7 separate regions of the Homo sapiens genome follow, and all the other regions are linked to region 1. Evidence: promoter capture Hi-C in human tissues and cell types (Jung and others, 2019). All regions are on one chromosome and are shown on one strand. The core of a region is centred on a gene start or on the middle of the fragment in contact, and the rest is flanking DNA. Distances in the headings are between cores, read along the strand shown.

Region 1 (2,866 bases), core at 240-2,739:
AGAATCGGGTATGCGGGAGGGGCTTGCGCAGCTTTCGCTGTCCAGAGTAGCAGCCTCAGTGCGCTCAGGTTCGCAGCAGCGCAGCGCCCTCGGACCCGGCAAGGGGAGCCTGCTGCGGTGCCCTCCACTCTAACCCCTTGCGCCCCTCCTTCAGGTCCACGACAGCCTGGACAAGGGCAGGCTGTCTCCTCCGCGTCCCCACTGACCCCGCAGGAAAATCTCTGCACCTGGAGATACCCATTAGATGCGCCAGGGCTTGCTCCCCTAACCAAGGCGCTTCGGGATCGCGGGGCTGGTGTTCGGGAAGACGGGGCAGAGAGATGACAGAGGGAGACAGAGATAAGCTGCGAGAAGCAGACACAGAAAGAGAACAAATGTTGCAAAACGGAGAGACAAAAGGAAAGACAGATTAACAGGGACACAGATATCCCAAGAAAGAAAGAGGGAAACAGAATAAGAGAAAAAAACAGATACATGGCCGGAGAGTGTGGACTGAGGGGACCAAGGCTCAGAAAGAGAAACAGAGGCAGAGACACACACGGCGAGAATGAGAGGCAAGAGGACTCTGAAAAAGCGAGGCAAAGGGGGCACTATACGAAGGCAACCGTCGAGGAAGACACCCAAGACCCAGGGAGCGCCTGGTGTCGGGTCGAGTAGAAACGCCCGCAACGCAGCCGGGGCTGCCTGCAGCTGGTGCGAGAAAGTTGTCTGGGCTTGGAGGCCGAGCCACCCCCGCGGAGGAACGTCACCAGAACGCAGAGGGGGCCAGAGCCGCTCCCCCCCCCCCCCCCGCCACCAACAACTCACCGGGGTAGCCAGAAAAGCAGAGCAGAAGGTGGGCGGCGGCAGAAAGTTCCGCGCCACGCGGTCCTCCCGCAACACCTGCAGCCCCGCAAGCGAGCGCACTCGGAGCTCCCGGGAGGCCGCGTCGCCAGGTCCGCCCGCGCCCCTGCCTTTGCCCTGGGACCGGCCCGGGGCGCTCGGCTCCGCGCCCCGGCACTCGCCGCGGGACTTTGCGGCACCTAGCCCCGGCACTCTGGCAGCCCAGAGGGAGCTCGTCCCAGACAATCAAGAGGAAAAGAGGGGAAGCGAGAAAGAGACGGAGACCTGCTATCCTGGCCAACGATCCCGCGAAGAGGGAACGGCGGTCCACACACGGGATTCAGCCTCAGATCAAGCCCAGCAGGCGCCGGCCGGCCGCGCCGAGTGCGGGGCTCGCCGAGTCCGCGCTCACCTGGAACCCGCGCCGGCCCGCGAGCGCCGCGCGCAGCCCCGGCTCCCGCCCGCGCCTCTCTCTTCACACTTGCCCGCGAGCAGAGGGAGCCGGCTCCAGCCTCGGCCAGCCCCAGAGAGGGGCCTTCATAGCGCAGCGGCGGGCTGAAGGGCTCCTCGAGCGCGGCCAGAGCGGACGCTGAGGCCGAGGAGGCGCCCAGAGCGAGCGAGGGCTGCTAGCACGTTGTCACCTCAGCAGAGCCGCCGCCGCCTGGTCACTTCTCCCCGGCCCCCGCCCCCCTCCCACCCCAGCCCGCCGCCTCCCGGTCCCTCCTCCTCGCGTGGTCCCTCCTCCTCTCGTAGCCCCAGCCTGGAGGCCTCTCACTGGGCTAGTATCATTTACGTAACCAGCACCCCCAGCCCTCCTCCCTCCCTGCTCCCGCTCCTCCCCGGGCTGGGGCGGTGCGCACCGAGCGCGCTCCAGCTGCTTCTGGAGCTGGCGCTTCTGCGATGTGCGCAAGTCCCGCGATACTTGGCAGGCACGGCCCCCAAGAGCAACCCTGGGGTCAGCTCCTCTCGCCGGAGGGCGCCTCGCGACCCCTGGCCGCTTTGGGGCCCCACAACGCCAAAGCCGGCCTGCGTGCACCGCGTTCGCCCAATGCACCAGGGAGCCTCTTAGAGGGGAGCTGGAGGATCAGAGACTGCCCTCGGGGAAAGCGCCGGCAACCCCACCCTTGCCGTCGGCTCTCCAGCCGAGAGATGCTGCGGGGTACTTGACGCTTCGGCGCCCTCCGCAGAAAGGACGGAGGTTGGCCTCTTGTTGGTTACAGTATCTACACCCTGGCAGGATCCTAGTGTTCTGGTTGGCGGTGACTACTGCCACCGAACGCACTGTAAGAGTACTGGAAACACAGAGCGCTTCCTTGTGGCTCTCAAATTTTTATGAAGAGGTAAAGAAAAAAGTGGGGCTTTGAATTCCTTTCTCAGGCAAGTAGGTATGATATTAAACACACACCCACTCCGAAGTACCTGGACGTATGAATGTCTCAGTTAATGTGTTGTACCAATACCCCCATGGTACTGAGTTTAAATACATGTAAAGATTTTAGAACAGTGCCTGGCACAAGGCAGAAACCTAAGACGCAGACATTATTAGCGTCTCAAAGACTTGGGACCTGTCCCCCACTGCCATGGGAGAGGAACTTTTCTAGGAAATTGGGATTGCCGAGTTCAAGTGCCTGCTTGGCAATTTATTCACTGTGGCTCTTGGCTAGTTTTGGCCCTTCGGGTGTCAGTTGTCTTGTTTGTAATAAGGGCTGACAGGGGTCCTTGCTTCTCACAGTGTCACTTCACACATCTTATAGGATGTTTTTGGCAGAATTGGGGGAGGATATAACGACTACATAAAAATATTAAACAGCCACGTTTGACAAACATATGATACTATTAATCATAATCTAGTATGTCAATGCCATTCTTGATTATACTCATGAAAGGCAATTTCCAGAGATATTATCTTTATATCTTTTCGTGAGTCAAGTATCATTTAAATTTCTATGTTAATAACTGTATTAATGTCTCCTCCTACATTGTCCATCCTGCCCTACCGTCAATTATGGAGCATTTACCAGAGATGCTTCTGTGCATGTGTGAG
Region 2 (2,866 bases), core at 113-2,612, 460 kb before region 1:
ATTGCTAGAAAGTTTGTAACTGAGAAGAATGATGGCAAGTTTTCTGATGCAAGCAAATAAGTGGTTACTGCCTTTGTCTGAAATGGGGACCCCACAAAACTGTTTTGATGTAGTGGAGGTTAGATGATCAGAACTAAAAACCCACATCAGCTATTCAACATTGCTCTCTCCATCATATTTACAGCTTAAAAATTTCTGTAGTATTGATAATACTTTCAGTTCCAGTTTAGTTTAAAGGCTGTCTATTGATTTCATAGATATAAATGAGTTATCTTGGTGAATGCTATGTGAATTTATAATGAATTTACAGGGTGTCGAATGCTATTGCATCCTATAGTTTTTAATAAGGCAGGTAGAAAGAAATTCTCAATGTAATAGTAAAATGGGATTTCAAAAGTTTGAGATTAGCCTAAGGAATCATATCTCTAACATTAGTTGAATGAACAAAGTATTGTATTTCTCTGTTAAGGCAAAGAAAATCTTATGGGTATTTTCTAGAATGTCAATTGTAAAGGAGATAGAATGGAATGTTTTAACATCATATAAAAGAGAAGAGAAAAAAAGTCATCCATGAGGTAACATAACAGAGTTCAAAAGGAATATAAACGACTGCCTGTGTGATTGACAACTTCAACATAATGAACTCAGCTGTCTGTGAAGCTTTGCAAGTTACGACAATTGTAGAAATAGGCCAGTTTGACATTATCTTCCACGATTAGTATCCAAGCAAAGACACTGGATTATTTTCATTTGTTAAAAACAAAAGCCTAGTCTCAAATGAAGCACGAGCTGCCACTTGCAGATTTAGTAGAACTACTACATTTTCTCTTAACAGGGAGAAATAGTCATCATTTTAATTTGTCTAGGAGGAGGGATAAGCTGCCAACTCCCTTTACAATAGCAAGAGCTGTGCATTTATAATTGCTATTAGTCATTGCCCAACTGATATTTTGAAACATTTTCACCATTTTTATAAACAGGTATAAAGAATTCATTGCTATTTCAAGTGAATTAAAAATTAATATAAAATAGGGGAAAGACAAGTCATTGAAAATGTTTTACACAATTGAAGATGTGCAATTTGTTTTTGCTTTCATCAATTATTTTGTTCAACAAATGGCGAATGAGAAACATCATTATTTCAAACCCAATAATGTAATTGAGTTTCCTACTTTCAAAGAATAAAGCTTTCTAGATAAAAGAGTTATACATGTTCTTTAACGCAGGACTAGAATCTCTGGCTACAGAATCACTTTGTATAATCAATAAAATATTTAACTATTTTAATAATTCATATTTCTTTTATAAAACATGTCTCTACTTAGAAAAACATTTATGTATTTTTTACATATATGTATACATTTATATATAGTTTCGAATACAACTATAACTCCAATATCAGTGATAATCACTGAAAATTCTTGTATTTATTTTCTAACCTCTAGGTGTCCTTAGGCTCTACTGAGTCACAGGTGCAGGGCTAAGGAGGTCCTGGCAATACAGAAAGAAAAAGATGGGGCTCCTAGAAATCATTCCTTAATTGGGGGGAAGGTAGGCTCATCAAAAGGTCATTCTAAAGCCATGTGACATTTGAAAACCAAGGTAACTCTACAGAAGCATTCTCCAGAAACACTGAGAATGAAGTGATTAATTCTACTTAGGAAAAATTAGGAAAAGGAGATATGATGTGTAGGGAAGCTTCCAAGAGGCATACACCTATGGGTTTTTTGTGTTTCTACGACAAAACATTCAGATAACTGAAAGTAGTGAAAATATGTACATGAGAAGATAGATTTCTTATTCTTCATTCATTTGCTTTTATCACATAAGAAAACTGATGGCTTTTCAGCATTTGCCTTTAGGATTGAGTTAAATATCATTTCATAACTTTGCTCAATCAGTAACATTTCTCTGGGAAAGAGGAGGCACTGGCCACAGCTACTGGCAAGTTTGTAAACAGGGCAACCAGCTCACATAGCCGGAAGACAGATTCATGTTCTGGAGAGATTTGTTGCTGGGTGAAAAACTAGAAGAGGTAGGTGTCTTATAAAGAGGTTCCTCAACTTGTGGTTTCAGCATTCAGTGTGTAGACAAATGGGTCCCATAAAGAATATTATTTTTTTAATTTCATTTTAAACCATGCAGGAGGGCTTTATAGACCACCCATCATGTCTTTTTAACATCTTACCTGGTTAGATACTCAATTTTTTTTTGTGGGATAGCAAGGGGCAGAATCAGTTCCCATTTTACAGATGTTGCTGAGGAGACTCACTGAGATTCAAGAATTTATCAAAACTAGGGAACTCTTGTAAAAACCAAGCTTTGAACATTCTGGCCTCAAGGTCAGCATTTATGTTTGTTATTTTTAGGCTCAGCAGAGGTAGAAAACACAATCTCTCTGTCTCTTATAAAACACATGTACTCAAGGACAACCTCAATTCTTTTCTCCTCCAGTTTTTCCTTTTTACTTTTTTGAGATAAAAGACAAGGTCATAAGGGTATATAAAGATACAGAGGCTAAGTGTGTCTGGATTGCTATCCATGTATGAGAAGCATGGTATTTTGAATGCCAGAGCTAATAGCTTCAAATGTTTTCTGTAAATTATTCAACCCAGTACAACAGCATTAAAGCCTGAAATAGATCACGTGGAGACAGCACATTGCTATTCAAATTATTCAAACCAGTCAAATGAATTTATTCCTTAATAAAGACTGCCTTGGGCATTTGCTTCCAGAGCTCTTGTGTCTTTCACAAATAACACATTTACAGTTTTCTATTTCTGTAGCAAGAAGTGGCTATCAGCTTATTCCAAGAGCTAGATATATGGGGTTGTGAAGAAAAAAAAAAGTTTAAAAAGTCATTTAA
Region 3 (2,866 bases), core at 248-2,747, 410 kb before region 1:
TTTGAGGGAGCAGCTGGTGGGGGCAGAGTGGGGGTGCGGAAAGGGAGAGGAAAAAGTAGAGTGAAAGAATGCAAAGGTGTGTATAGACTGAATGTAGAGTTGAAGGAGAGGATGTGTTTAAGAACAAAATGTGCATGAACCGGTGTGTGTGAGAGGTATGGTGAAGTGGTATTGATCACAGATGGAGCCTTTAATCTCATCTCCCACTCCTCTCAAAACCAGAAACCCATTCCTAGCAGCTCAAAAACACAGTGAAGCTACCCCCAAAATACTCATGCCAACATTTCCTAATGTACAATCTACTGTCACTTTTTGCCTTTCGACAACTTTCTTTGCCTTGGAGTTTTCTGACCTTTAGGATTGATCACCACACTTTATGGCTTTTGTGTTTTCTGGAATCAGAAAAATTGTTACATGTCATTACTCCACATCTTATTAGGGCTGCTGATATTTCAGAAAATCCCAATTGTCCTTTAGATCAACAATACAACACATGGTTCTGATTGTATTGTGGCAAATCTTCCGTTCTCTGTGTAAATAAAATGTATGAATATAACAGGCAAGAAATAAAAAATGTAAGGCCATCTGTCAGATATTAGAAATCCTACATAATATAAGATGGTTCTGCTTAAGAAATTAATGGTTAGGTTTTCACATTATAAACAAGCATTGCTTTTTTATGAGCACAAATTGTTTCAAACAGTAACTCATGAAGAAAGGAAACAAAAATAATATATGATACAGTAACACTTTTTCATCTTTTAATAATTAATAATGTTAAGGTATAATACATCCTGGAGGCTTTGAAAGTATTTTCAGTATATTTAAGTGATTATTAAGACAAAAGTAGAATTATTGGAATTTTTGTTTTCCTCGTTGTATAATTAAGCCTATCAATTACTCTCAACTGTGAAAAAAATTGTATGTGGATGTAAATTTGAAAACTGAATGGAAAATGTGTGTGATTTCTTAAATGATATGTAGGTCAGATACCTTGCATTTTACATTGGTCTTCTCCCATGTCTGATGTGACTGCCTTTCAGATATCAGTAACATCTGCTGCTTCTAGCCACAGAGTGGCTCATGACAGCTGCGTGACGCTGCCCTAGAATTCATGCCAAACCAGTCCCCTTTGAATATCAGTAGACCACCTGGGTACCCAGCTGCAATATATGGCATCTCTTGCTCTTTCACAGATGCCAGCAATACATAAAAAGAACTTGAGTGGAAAAGAAAACCTGGTAGCTCAGAAAAAGTTTTCCTTCAGTCTCTCCATCTGTAAATGTCCACCTCTCCTAATTGGAGTTACAGAATTTCAGTTTCAATTAAATTTCCTGTGTAATTTGTAAAGTGGTCATGTGTGTCCCAAATGTAGAGAATTGTGATAAATTTGAGGAAATAGGACAACCTGTCTCCTCTTGAGAATTTTTTTCTAAGATCCTGGCTGGCATATATTCAGCAAATATATATTAGCCAATTACTTTGTGTGTTGTCAAGCACAATGCTGGGCTCTGGGGCATAGAAAAAGAATAATAATAATACATAGCTCTCTAGTAGCTTACAGGCCAGTCTAGTTGTGAATGTCAAAACTGGGCATATTAAAGTTAAAGTCTAGTCATCAGTTTGCATTTGACAGTGAAATAAATAAATAAACAGTCTCTCATGCTTACAAGAAGGGGACTTGAGAGTTTCTCACCCCCACCATCGTGATAGACAGGATGCCTTTCTCCTGGCTTTTAATCAGCTAGAGTCATTTTGTTTCTAGTCAAGAACCTAAGACATTATTTTTTAAAGCTGTAAGTTTTGCTTCAAATAAGTACTTTCCCTAGGGGGCATATCTAAAATTCTAATGCTGTCAATGGAAAATATGAGTACCTCTCAAAACTCATCTTACAGGCACTTTTTTTTTTGCTATATAGAGTTTGGCAAGAACCAATGTGAAACACCTAAAAATATCCATGTTAATGTCACCTCAAGTACTTATTCAAGAAACCCACAAACATCCTAAGAAGGAAATTAATACTCTACTTTTGACAGTTTTTTATTAAAAAAATTAATTGGTAATAGTCAATGAAGGTTACATTACACTTTAGAAGAGTAAAGAAATAACCATGAAATAGCAACATTTGGCATATTGCTTTGCTAACTTGTCAGTCACAAACAAGGAGAGGGGAGTGCAAAGTTTATTTCTTTAGATATGATGCTTAAAGTCCAGTAAAGATAATTTCCTTGGTACACTAGTACTTCAAAATGTTATTCTTGTGAAATTTAAAAGTTGCTCCATAGAGAACATCAAATGCTCATTCAAATGCTTGTTGAAGAAGCTGTGATTAATCCAAAATTTTCACCTGTTATCAAGCTCCATATAAATTCTATCTTCTCTGAAAATAATCTCTTGCCTCCACTTTCCTTGAGATCAAAAAGAGCTCACCTGATTTTCTACTCATTTCTACCTCGAAATGTCTCAAATATCCTTAGTTTCTTCTTTCCATTTTAGGAAAGAAAGTCAATCCTCTTCTCTGAAGTTCACCCTTGCCCTTGGTCTCCTGAACTCGTATTAAGGTTCCTGACTTGGAGTCAGGAGATGTGAGTTTGATGTTTAGCCCTGCCAATTTCTAGGCACATGACAATTTATCTGAGGCTCAGAACCTTCAACTATAGAATAAGATGATAATAAGAACTCATCTAGAGTGTTCTGGTAAGGACATAGTAAAATAATGAGTGTGAAACTGCACTGTAAACTAAGTGTCACACAGATATTCTTTATTGCTATACCATTTGTCCAATACCTGTAGGTATTTATCTCATCAATTATCCCTTTCTTTTTCTTTTTAGATATCACCGCATATTTAAAACTAGTTCCTTA
Region 4 (2,866 bases), core at 131-2,630, 390 kb before region 1:
TTAATTTTTGTATTTTTAGTAGAGACAGGGTTTCATCATGTTGGCTAGGCTGTTCTCCAACTCCTGACCTCAGGTGATCTGCCCTCCTCGGCCTCACAAAGTGTTGGGATTACAGGCATGAGCCACTGAGCCTGGCCCGAACTCTTCTGATTTCTACCCAAAACATTTGGTAGAGTTCACCAGTTAGGTTATCTGGCCATTGAGTTTCCTTTGTAAAAATTATTTTTAAAGTATTAAAAATTATAAATTTTTAGAATAAATTTCATTTATTTACTAGATACAGGGCTGTTTGGTCTATTTTTTCTTTCTGTGAGCTTTGATAATTTGTATCTTTTAATGAAGTTGTCCATTTTATCTAAGTTGTCAAGTTTATTGGCATAATGAGAATGATAATGTTCCATTCCAATCCTTTTAGCCATCTGTAGAATACATGGTGGTCATGCCACCTTTCTGATTTCCAAAATTGATAATTTGTGTCATCTCTCTATTTTTCCCATATTTGGCTAAAATATCATCTATTTTATTGATCTCAAGGAAACAAATTTTGGTTTCATTGCTTTTCCATATATATATATTTTTTTTTATCATATAGGTATCATATATGTGGAATATTATATATATTCCTTTTATATTTCATTTATTTCTGCTGTTATCTTTATTATTTCCTTTTTCTTAGATACTTTGGCATAAAAACTCTTCTTTTTCTAGTTTCTGAAGGTGGAAGCTAAGGTCATTGATTTTACCTCTTTTTTTTTTTTTTCTTTTCTGATATAGACATTTAGTGCTATAAATAATTCCTAAGTTTGCTTTAGTGTCACTACACATTTTGATGTGCTATGTTTTCATTTTCATTACATTCCAAATAGTGGTAATTTTACTTGTTCTTTAATCTGTGGGTTTTGTTTGTTTGTTTGTTTTTGACAGAGTCTCGCTCTGTTGTCCAGACGGGAGTGCAGTGTCATGATCTCGGCTCACTGCAACCTCTGCCTCCTGGGTTCAAGCGATTCTTCTACCTCAGCCTCTCGAGTTGCTGGGATTACAGGAGTCCACCACCATGCCCAGCTAATTTTTTTTTTTTTTTTTTTTTGTATTTTTAGTAAGGACAGAGTTTCACCATGTTGGCTAGGCTGGTCTTGAACTCCTAACCTCAGGTGATCTGCCTGCTCGATCTCTCAAAGTGCTGGGATTACAGGCATGAGCCACCACATCCAGACTATCCATGGGTTTTTAAGAAGTATGTTATGTAGTTTCTCAATATTTCCTCTACCCCTTACCTCATGAATCAATCTGTCTGGAGGATACAGGTACTATTGACTTTCCTGAGTCATCACTGGGCAATGAGACCTCTAACCTTTTCTGAAGGTTCTTTCCTCAGACTTGGATTGTTTCCTCACACACTTGTGAAGACACAGCTGAATACTCCCACAGAAACCTCTGTATATCTCTTCAATGCTCTGCCCAGGACTCCATTACTCTGTTCACCAAATTCCAGCGGGCTTGGTCTCCCCAAACACTCAGCTTCATCTCCTCAAGTCATGGAGTCTGTCAGTATCTAGCCCTTTTATCACTAAGGCCTAGAAACTTTCACAAGGCAGTAAGCCGAGGCAATTGTAAGGCTTTCCTTGTTTGTTTCCCATCTCTCAGGGTGACTGCTGTTCAATGTCTTGAAAGTGTTATTTCATGTATTTTTGTCCATTTTTTAATTTATTCAGGTGAATGACGAGGAGAATGGTAAATCTAGTACTTGTTACTCCAAGTCTAGATGATACATACTTTTAAAAATTAACAACTGTTTCATTCCAACTGATTTATGAGTGTAGAAAAATGTTTTCCACCCTAGATTCTTAGATGTCAGTAATTAACTCCAATGATGTTGTGGAAGTATAAAAAGTATTTTTTTGTGTGTGGTTTTTCTTTTCCTTTTTAAAATTTAATATATTTTTTGAGCAGGGGAGCCTTAGAACTACATCTCAACTAACACTTAGTATAATTATACTTTAATGTATATTGCATTTCTGGGTTTAAATGACTTTTTCTCTACATTCTCTCTTGTGATTAACCATGATCAAAGCCAAATTATTAAAGGTAAGATTGTTTTTAGGTGATTCTCAGGAATGTTATGACTTGCCCAGAGTTGCACAGCTTATAACAATCACCACAACAGCTGCCATGAATGACACACTATGTGCTGAGTGGAGTACTCAGCACAATATACATAATATCATTTAATCTTTCTCTAAAAATGAGGAAAGTACTGTTATCTTTCTGTTTTAGAGATGGACACACTAAAGCTTAGAATATGTGCTATCTTACCTAAGCTTACACAGATGGTAAGTGCCAGAGCTGGGTGTTGAATGCAGGCTATCTGAATCCCAGTCCATACTTGTAACCATTCATGGCTGTGAGACAGATTTCTGTGTCCTTTGCTGTCATCAAGCTCCTTTATTTATTTTTTCCCATGCTCTGAGTTGATTGGATAGTGGCAGTTTTCTTCATTTTAGAATGGGCAAAATGATCTGTACTCTTGGGAATGCTGCTCCCCATGATATTGCTTATAAAAGACAAGGACTTTTGGTGGTGATGCTTGTTGGTTGATACTTATCCTGAAACACGGTTATTATTTAAAGATAGAGGATACTTTTTGATGGTAATTCATAATTTTCTTGGTTCATTTTATCACTATTTTATTTGGGTATCAATTTCTCAGTTCTTGTCTAAAATTTCAACCCCTATGTATCCTCCAAAATCCAACACTTCATAGAATCTTTCCTTCCTTATATTTTTTCTTTAACACCTATAACTGATATTTTAATAAATTTTATTTATTTTGTTTATTGTCTGTCTCTTTCTCCAAAATCTAAGTTCC
Region 5 (2,866 bases), core at 226-2,725, 350 kb before region 1:
AGCCCTTATATGTTACTGCTATCTCTTACATTTAGCTGTATGAAACATGGTGTGTGTTTATTTAATTGTATTATTAAATAATTTCACATCTGTATTCTATGAAAAGGGCTGAAAAATAAATTGAATATCAAAATAATAGGTTTCTCCTTTAAAATCATATTGAAGATTTAAGACCACTTGATTACATACCTAAAGGTGGACCCTTTTATAGTTTTATATGCTAAAGAAATCCCAGATTCTATCTTCAAATAATTTAACCAAGAGCTATAATTTTTGGTTTAATAAATAGAAGTTACATGTTTAAATCAAGTATTCCTGTCTTGCTACACGTGAACTCTGAACTAGAGCTGGCATTTTTTTCTTAATTTATTCTACTTCATTATTTATTTAAACAGCATAGCTTATATTGTCCTTAAATCCTTTTGAAATAAAGCAGAATTAAAAAAGAAAAAGTTTGTCTCTCTTTTGTTGACACCAATCACAGGTACCACTTCAATGATGCTTCTCTTTCGAATCCAACTTACTCCATGAACTCATGCATAAATCCTCAACCCGTCCCTGATTGAGGAGGTAACATATGGGGAAAGTGCATCACAAACAGGGAAAATAATGTGACAAAAGTATTATAAATAGCTAGAGGCTGTGCTTTGACCAGAATTCAAGTCTCTGAATTCTCCAATCACTGACCTTGCCTCTTCAGGGTGTCTAGGAGCTACTGTAGGGGAAATGTACCCATAAAATGCAAAGGTTCTACACAGTTCACCTTTTATGAAACAAATAACAGATTAAAAACAAAAGGAATAGGCCAGGTCAAAATTCATTCTGTGTTTTATCAACAATAATTTTAGGGATTAAAATAATATAAGGTACTTTGTTTTATTTTCTGTTAAGGTCTATTCAGTTTTCTTATAAAAGCCTCTTTATCTTTCATGATATTGGCTGATCAGAATATAGTTTCAATGAAAATAAAATAGTACTCATGAGGAAAAGTAGGGAAACATTTCAAAGATCTGCCTCATTGGCTAATAATTTGTATTATTAATTGTGGAAGATATTATAACTTTCTTTTAGGAATTTAAATTTTATCTAGATTATTTGATTTCAGTAAGACTTCTTACATAGGATCTGTAGACAAAATACCCAATGCTTTCTTTCCTAAGGAGAGTGGATCAACCTGTAAATTGTGCAAAAAGAGCAGGCAGAAATGGAACAATGGTATGTAAAGAATAAATGGTGAGAAAAAAATATTTTTTAAAAGGTGCATTTTCTGAAATGCTAGAAAAATGCACCCACCCATAGCATTTTAAGTTTTTCCTAATATAACAAATAGAGCTGGAATTCAAGCAACTATAAAAGAAATGAAAACTATTTTGGAGAAATGTTGGGGTGGTTCCACCATTTCTCTTTGAGAATTACAGTGGTGTGGTGTCTTGGGAAAAAGGAAAGCCTACTCTGTGCCCCATTTCAAACATTAATGAACGGTAAAACAAATGAATTTTCATAATAAGATAAACAAGTAATGTTTTCATTGAGGAAAAGAACAAACTTCATTTGAATGTCAATTGCTGTGCTCTAAAAGAGAATTTCCATGTCAGAAGGAAGATTTCAAGAGTAATGAATAGGGTTAGTATCTGAACTCTAACTCCTTTTTCCATATCCTGCAGAAAGGAACAAGTTGTCTTTGGAATCTGTTACTAGAAGCCTCAAATAGAATTGCCTTTCATTCTCTAAGGAGAACCTACTGCACTTGTGATTGTCAAATTATTACAAATTCAAGATCACTGCTGTCTTAGATCTCAAATGTTACATTAGTCTATAATTACAGATTCTAATTTTAGGGAACAAAATCAACCTCAAGCCAACAGTCAAAAGAAATATCTACCTGCAAAACAAAACAATGTAATTAGTTGAATTACTAAGTCAAGGAGTTATTCAAATAAGAATTCTAATAATAATAGATGCTGGCTTTGAACACAGTGGTGAGGATCATTCACTTTAAAAATTATTATTGTCTAATACAATATACATGATATAACAATGAAAAATAAACATTACTATTTCTATTAATAATTATTCGTATGATAAGGAAAGCAGGCTCTCATTTTTGCATTTTTCTGTTTGCATCAACAAGTACTGTAACAGCCTGTATTCAAGAAAGCTAAGTTAATTGACTGACAATACTAATTTGTGCATTTTATTACTAGAATATTCTGGCAGGTGGAAAGAATTGGTTAATATATTGGTAAGTGGTAAAAACCTATTAGAAGCTTTTGGAGTCCAGAGAAAATGATTCCTTTATCTTTCTAAGCCCCAGTGCACTATGTGCTTAAAATGTGAGTAAACAAATTAATATAATTTAATTTGGTCTGTCTATAAAATGCCATTATTTCTTTGCGCTCATCTAAAACAAAAAGGTGACAGTCTGGAGAATTAGGACAAGTATTTGGGCCAGAAACTAAAGCACAAGTGTCTTATTTAAACTTTACAAACTTCTGCAATCTTTCATTAATTAAATGTTATAAACAATGGGCCTTCTTAGCATAATGTCTTTAAAAACTAGGATTTAATAAGTATCACCTACTCCCTTGATTGTTATAAGATGATTCACTGTTGACTACTTTTATGACAACTTGCTTTATTACTGGCATTGCAAAATAATAAACCCATGATAAAAAAAATTTGTACAAGATCAAGATTTTAACAGCTTCTATCCCAAGTTCATAATATAAATATGTAAGTTAAAATAACTTTTCTTTTCTTCAGAAATATGTGTGTATGCATATGTGCACATGTATTTTTAAGATTTGAAGTGAAAATGAACAGAAAGTCAGGAAATTAATTTAAGAGCTTAAGACCTAGTAGAACA
Region 6 (2,866 bases), core at 250-2,749, 330 kb before region 1:
AAATCTTCATAGTGAAGAAAGCTTGGATCTTGGTGTTAGCCATCAGATAACAAGTAAAATCTCCTAAATTTTCTCCAGCCTTCTAATGTATTATTTTCCTATATTGTTTTAAGTTACCCTGGCTCCCTGGCCCATGGCTAAAGAAAGAGGATACTGAGAGTCATAATCATAATCTGTAAAGTGTCCACTTAAGAATATGTGCCTTAAAAAATGCTACCTCCATTCATGTTTCTACTAATCCAAAAGTAGAAGTGTGATCTCAAGGACGCTAAGTGCAGCAGCATTCCCTGAAAAATAGAACTTCATCAGGGAACATACAGTACTTACTATATGTAATTAAAATACATATATCTTTCAAAATCTAGATCAAATATTACCTTACAGGGGTTTTCCTGAATACCCCAATCTAGCCCCTTCCCATGAAAGCAAAAGTTTTTATCTTTTCCACAGTAGACACTCCATTAACATCTTACATATGTCTGCATTATTCTTCTATAATATAGTTATTTTTCTCCCCTGCTAGACAGAGAGCAACCTTGCCTGCAGCCAGGCACAAAGTAGGTGTTTCACAAAAGTATTTTGGATTGAATTAAATCAAAGGGTAAGCAGTATAAATGCCAGAAAGTTATCTTCATCAATGTGTCTTAGTTGTAAAAATGTAATTGTCAAGGGACAAATTGTAAACAGCAATAATAAAATTAGGTGACTCTTGCTGAGTCTTGAAGCATCAAGGAAGAATCAAAGATGGTGCTGTCTGTCAATAATAGTCACTCTAATGGAACAAGGACTTAGGTGAAGGGCAAGCACTGCCAGACACATATCTATCTTTTGGGACATACTTGCTCAATTAGATGCCTGTTCTGTAAGTAAAAAGCAAAGAATTCCCAAACACACATGCTTATGGCAAAAACATTTAGAATTAACTCTTACCATTATCAAAACAAAATGAAGATAAAGGAAGCCTTTGAAAAGAGGAGATAACCAAGGATACTTTTTAAAAAATGTGATCTAAAGAACAACATTTTATGGTCAGTGGTTTTGGTAGCCTCTGTATGTTTAAACTGCAAAATTGTCTAAACCTGTTTGAAACAGTTATCTAAGGGGCCCAATCGCATGACACTTTAAATAAAGTAAGAAGGTGATGCTATGCATGTGTGTCATCGTTACTAATGTCTTCTTGCCATGATTGCTAATAGGTATAAGACAGTATTCAATGCCATGCTTCACAAAACAGGTAAGAGATGCGTTGGTCTCAGAGTTTCTCCCTAAATTGAATTTCTGTCAAGAAAGCAACAGCAACAAATCAAACAAAGCTTCTATGACATGCCAGGATTTCAAAGTGTAACTAGACAGAATTATTCTCTCATGCTGTCATGAATACACATTCATGGAAGACTTTCTATTGTCTTTATTAACTACTAACAGTATAATTTCATCACTCTGCAGTCATTCAGATTACATTATTAATACACATGACAACTCTTTGTAGGCTGACCACAATTTCTTCAGTTGGCTAGCTGAACTTGATAATAGCTCTTACAAACTAATACAAAGCATATTATATATACCACTTGATGTGACTACACACACATATACATATAAAGAGACTTCAAATGTAGGAACTGATAATATTCCAAAAGTATTTTCTTAAAGTTCTTTTAATTGTTGTAAAATAGAATTGCATTTTCTTGGAAAAACAAAATTATATAAGATATACATTTTCTAGGCTAGTTCCCAAAGCCTCTTCAGTTCAAAATAAATCTTAATAGATGAACTGTCTCATCATGTATGTTAGTCAAGTTTTACAGCTTAATCTCTGCCATAGTCAGAATGTGTCCTCTCCAAAATTCAGGTGTTAAAATTTAATGGCCAATGTGATAGTAGCAAGAGGTGAGGTGTGTAAGAGGTGATCAGGTATGAGGGCTCCTCCCTTGTGAATGGGATTAAGGCTCTGATAAAAGAGACTTCACACAATACTTGGCCCTCTTGCCCTTCTACCTTCTGCCATGTGAGGACATAGCATTCCTCTCTTCCAGATAATGCAGCAACAAGCTGCCATCTTGAAAGTGGAGACCAGGACCTTCACAAGACATTGAACCTGACAGCACCTTGATCTTCAACTTCCCAAGTTCCAAAGGTGAGAAATAAATTTCTGTTATTTATAAATTAGTCTATGATATTTTGTTATAGCTTTACAAACAGACTAAGACAATCTTCATGGGAAATGCATTAAAAGTAATGTAGTGGCATTTCTTCTATTCCTCTTGCCATACTCTTACCAGACCACAGTTCATATCTTTGGTGGGATATTCCCCTTAATCACCACCCCATCTCCATAGTTAATGCAGTAATTCTATTGAAATTCTTTTCTTATCTCGAAAGAGATAAGAAAAATTATGCATTACATAAGTTAAATGACAATCACACTTAGAGGACTGACTTGAATATGCAAAGACAAAATATAATTTTATGTTTACTACCCAATATATCTTCATGACTCCTAAAATGAAATCTTACAGGGATAACAATTTGTAGAAACTTTAATGCCTTAATATTTAAGAATTAATCCCCCCATCCCTCACAAAAAATAAATAAATTACTAGTGGAAGTTATTTTACTTATGTTGAAGGTATGATTTCTGAGGAGTCTATATGGAACATGCAACTGTGCATATCTCTGGAATTCTTGCTCGGTAATTATAAAATCAAGGATATAATGCATCTCTGAATAATTTATTATGCTTTCAATCCAAACCTTGATTATTATAAGTCTTAGAAAATTCAAGAAAGAGTTCAGATAAAAGATTACTTACCCTAGGGCCAAAAAATTCTGTATTTAGTATCCAAAAGAGACACATTCCAAAATT
Region 7 (2,866 bases), core at 156-2,655, 310 kb before region 1:
ATGTAAACAGCTGACAGTAGTAGATTTTTAAAAATAATAAAAATTCAAGATTTTAAACAAAAATTACAATTTAAGAATACTTGTATCATTCACCTTGAGCTTGAAAGCATTACAATGTGTAAAAAAAATTCTCTGATGAGATTGGTGATGCTATTAGCCAATGTAATTTTATGACATAAAACTACCAACTAGTGTAATATGAAATATGCTATATTTGGAAGACTGTAATAATTAAGTAAAAAATATTTTCCAAATGAACAGTAAATAATATTACAAAGTTTAGCATGAGTGAAAATATCCATTTGAACTACAAGCTAGGCAATACATTTTAATACGGCAGAGTATAGAAAGTACCTTGATATGGAGTCAGATTCTTCATTGTAGGTAATCATTTAGAAATAATCATTTAGAAACATAACTTATAGATTACTAAATAAAATCAGGAAAACAATAAGTGAGCAATATGAGAAGTTCAACAAGGAGATAAAAATTATAAAAAAATAGAAATTCTGAAACTAAAAAATATAATGTCTGAACTGAAAAAGTCAATGGAGAACTTTAACAGCAGATTTAATCAAATATAAGAATCAGAGAACACAAAGACAGATAATTTAAAATTATCCAGTCAAAGAAACAAAAAGTAAAAACAATAAAAAAGTGAAGAAAACCTATAGGGCTTATGGTACACTATCAAGTGAATTAATATGTATACTATGAGAATCTCGGAAGGGATAGAGAAAGAGAAAGGTGTAGAAAGCTTATTTAAATAATTCATGACAAAAAACGTTTCAAATACAAATAGGGAAATGAACATCTAGGTTGATAAAGCCCAAAGAATTCCAATTAGTTGAGAATAAAGACATCTTCACTGAAACATATGATAATCAAATTGTCAAAAGTCAGAGACAAAGAGAGAATTTTGAAAGCAGTAATAGAAAAGCAATTTATCAGAAACAAAGGAAACTTCATGAAATTATCTGTAAATTTTTCAGCCAACACTCTGCATGTCAGGTCAAAGTGAAATGACATATTCAAAGTGCTTAAAGAAAATAACTGCCCACTAGGAAATTGATAACCACTAAAGCTGTCAAATAAAAAGATAATTATTTTCTTCAACAAACAAAATCTAAGGAGGTTATCATCACTGGACCTGCCTTACTAGAAATGCTAAAGAAAGTTCTTCTAGTTAAAATGAAAAGATACTAATTACCAACATCAAAACATATGCAGGCATAAAACTCACTGGCAAAGGTAAGTATACCATCAAATTAAGAAAATTCTAATACTCTAATGGTGGTATATAAATCACTTTTAATTCTAATATAAAAGTTAAGATTAAAGTATTACAAATAACTAGAGCTGCAATAACTTTTTAAATGATATATTATATGAAAAAATGTAAAGGTTTGGCACTGTCCTTGCAGTAATAAGTGAGTTATTGCTCTATAAGTTCTGGTGTGAGCTGGTTGTTAAAAAGGGCCTGGCACTTCTACTCCCTACTCTTGTTTTCTCTCTTGCCATACATCTTATATAGCCTGCATAATCATGAGCCAAATAAATCCCTTTTCTTTACAAATTACCCAGCCTCAGGTATTCTTAGCAACACTAAACAGACTAAGACACATGATAATCACAAAGAGGAAACTGTAAATGATACAGAATAGGAAACAAAGTATATCACTATGAAAAGAAAAAAATCACAAAGGAAGACAGCAAGATAGGAAAAAAATAACAAAGGAATTAAAAAACAGAAAAGCAATTAACATGACAATAATAAATCCTTCTCAATCAATAATTACTTCAAGTATAAAGAAGTTAAATTATTCAATCAAAACACAGAGAGTCACTGAATGGATTAAAAACAGTATCCAGGAGACTCATTTTATTCTTAAGTACACACAAAGGTTGAAAGCAAAGGGTAAAACAGCATATTCTATGAGTTACAAAAAGTGAGAAGAGGCAGGTATATGTATATAAAAAATAGATTATAGGTCAAAACCTGTCACAATTGAGATAAAGAAGGTTATTCTATAATAATCTATGGGTAAATTCGTATAATATATTTTACCCATGTATTATTATAAATTTATAAGTTCAAATATATTATAAATTTATAAATTCAAATAATATATGGGTTAATTCATGATAAGGTTATAACAAGTGAGAATCTCTTGAGCCTGGGACTTTGAGGCCAGCCTTGGCAACACAGCAAGACCCTGTGGAGTCTATAACAATTAATGTCTATATTAAGAATAAAGAAAAATTTCAAATAAACTTAACTTTCCATTTCAAAGAACTAGAAAAAGAATACTAATCCCCAAATTAGCAGAAGAAAAAACATAGTAAAGATAGTAATGATAATAGCAGAAATAAATGAAATAGATTAGAAAAACAATCAAAAGAAAAATGAAACTAAGAATTTTTTTTTTTGAAAAGAGAATCAAAATTGACAAGTTTTTTTCAATTTGTTTGTTTGTTTGAGACAGGGTCTCACTCTGTTGCCGAGGCTGGAGTGCAGTGGCATGATCATGGCTCACTGCAGCCTTTACTTCCTGGGCTCAAGTGATTCTCCTGCCTCAGTCCCCCAAGTATCTGGGACTAGAGGCATGCACTACCATACCCAGCTAATGTTTTTATTTTTTTGTAGAGGTGGGGTTTTGCTATGTTGCCCAGGCTTGTCTTGAACTTCCAGGCTCAAGCAATCAACCGCCTCAGCCTCCCAAAGTGCTGGGATTACAGGCGTGAGCCACCATACTCAGTCTGCAACCTTTTAGATAGACTAAACAACAGAGAAAGAGAGAGGACTCAAATAAATACAATTATAAATGAAAGAGAGTCCACAAGTATAAAGGATCATAAGAAACTA

What was found. Contacts are between HindIII fragments. The study calls those that stand out against the background at their distance.
Region 2: a contact is called between a fragment that was not itself captured here and the fragment with the promoter of GALNT13 in region 1, in 7 of the 25 tissues and cell types used here (H1 embryonic stem cells, dorsolateral prefrontal cortex, hippocampus and 4 more).
Region 3: a contact is called between a fragment that was not itself captured here and the fragment with the promoter of GALNT13 in region 1, in 3 of the 25 tissues and cell types used here (mesendoderm cells, neural progenitor cells and stomach).
Region 4: a fragment that was not itself captured here is called in contact with the fragment with the promoter of GALNT13 in region 1 in 3 of the 25 tissues and cell types used here (mesendoderm cells, neural progenitor cells and thymus).
Region 5: a fragment that was not itself captured here is called in contact with the fragment with the promoter of GALNT13 in region 1 in 2 of the 25 tissues and cell types used here (mesendoderm cells and thymus).
Region 6: a fragment that was not itself captured here is called in contact with the fragment with the promoter of GALNT13 in region 1 in 1 of the 25 tissues and cell types used here (H1 embryonic stem cells).
Region 7: a fragment that was not itself captured here is called in contact with the fragment with the promoter of GALNT13 in region 1 in 1 of the 25 tissues and cell types used here (mesendoderm cells).

Annotation. Positions count from the first base shown.
Region 1 is chr2:153,870,545-153,873,410 of GRCh38, reverse strand. It overlaps GALNT13 (polypeptide N-acetylgalactosaminyltransferase 13), which reads right to left and starts at 1,489. Exons shown (of 13, transcript NM_052917.4): 1 at 1,108-1,489. The HindIII fragment of the contact is 9,874 bases long and covers 1-2,866 here.
Region 2 is chr2:154,331,773-154,334,638 of GRCh38, reverse strand. The region is part of intron 9 of GALNT13 (polypeptide N-acetylgalactosaminyltransferase 13); the gene reads right to left. Among named protein-coding and RNA genes, the nearest start is that of GALNT13-AS1, 120 kb to the left of the region's middle. The HindIII fragment of the contact is 4,798 bases long and covers 1-2,866 here.
Region 3 is chr2:154,278,984-154,281,849 of GRCh38, reverse strand. All of the region lies in intron 8 of GALNT13 (polypeptide N-acetylgalactosaminyltransferase 13), which reads right to left. Among named protein-coding and RNA genes, the nearest start is that of GALNT13-AS1, 180 kb to the left of the region's middle. The HindIII fragment of the contact is 7,348 bases long and covers 1-2,866 here.
Region 4 is chr2:154,262,688-154,265,553 of GRCh38, reverse strand. The region is part of intron 8 of GALNT13 (polypeptide N-acetylgalactosaminyltransferase 13); the gene reads right to left. Among named protein-coding and RNA genes, the nearest start is that of GALNT13-AS1, 190 kb to the left of the region's middle. The HindIII fragment of the contact is 5,025 bases long and covers 1-2,866 here.
Region 5 is chr2:154,220,459-154,223,324 of GRCh38, reverse strand. All of the region lies in intron 4 of GALNT13 (polypeptide N-acetylgalactosaminyltransferase 13), which reads right to left. Among named protein-coding and RNA genes, the nearest start is that of GALNT13-AS1, 240 kb to the left of the region's middle. The HindIII fragment of the contact is 6,248 bases long and covers 1-2,866 here.
Region 6 is chr2:154,199,776-154,202,641 of GRCh38, reverse strand. The region is part of intron 4 of GALNT13 (polypeptide N-acetylgalactosaminyltransferase 13); the gene reads right to left. Among named protein-coding and RNA genes, the nearest start is that of GALNT13-AS1, 260 kb to the left of the region's middle. The HindIII fragment of the contact is 3,044 bases long and covers 1-2,866 here.
Region 7 is chr2:154,183,325-154,186,190 of GRCh38, reverse strand. All of the region lies in intron 4 of GALNT13 (polypeptide N-acetylgalactosaminyltransferase 13), which reads right to left. Among named protein-coding and RNA genes, the nearest start is that of GALNT13-AS1, 270 kb to the left of the region's middle. The HindIII fragment of the contact is 4,403 bases long and covers 1-2,866 here.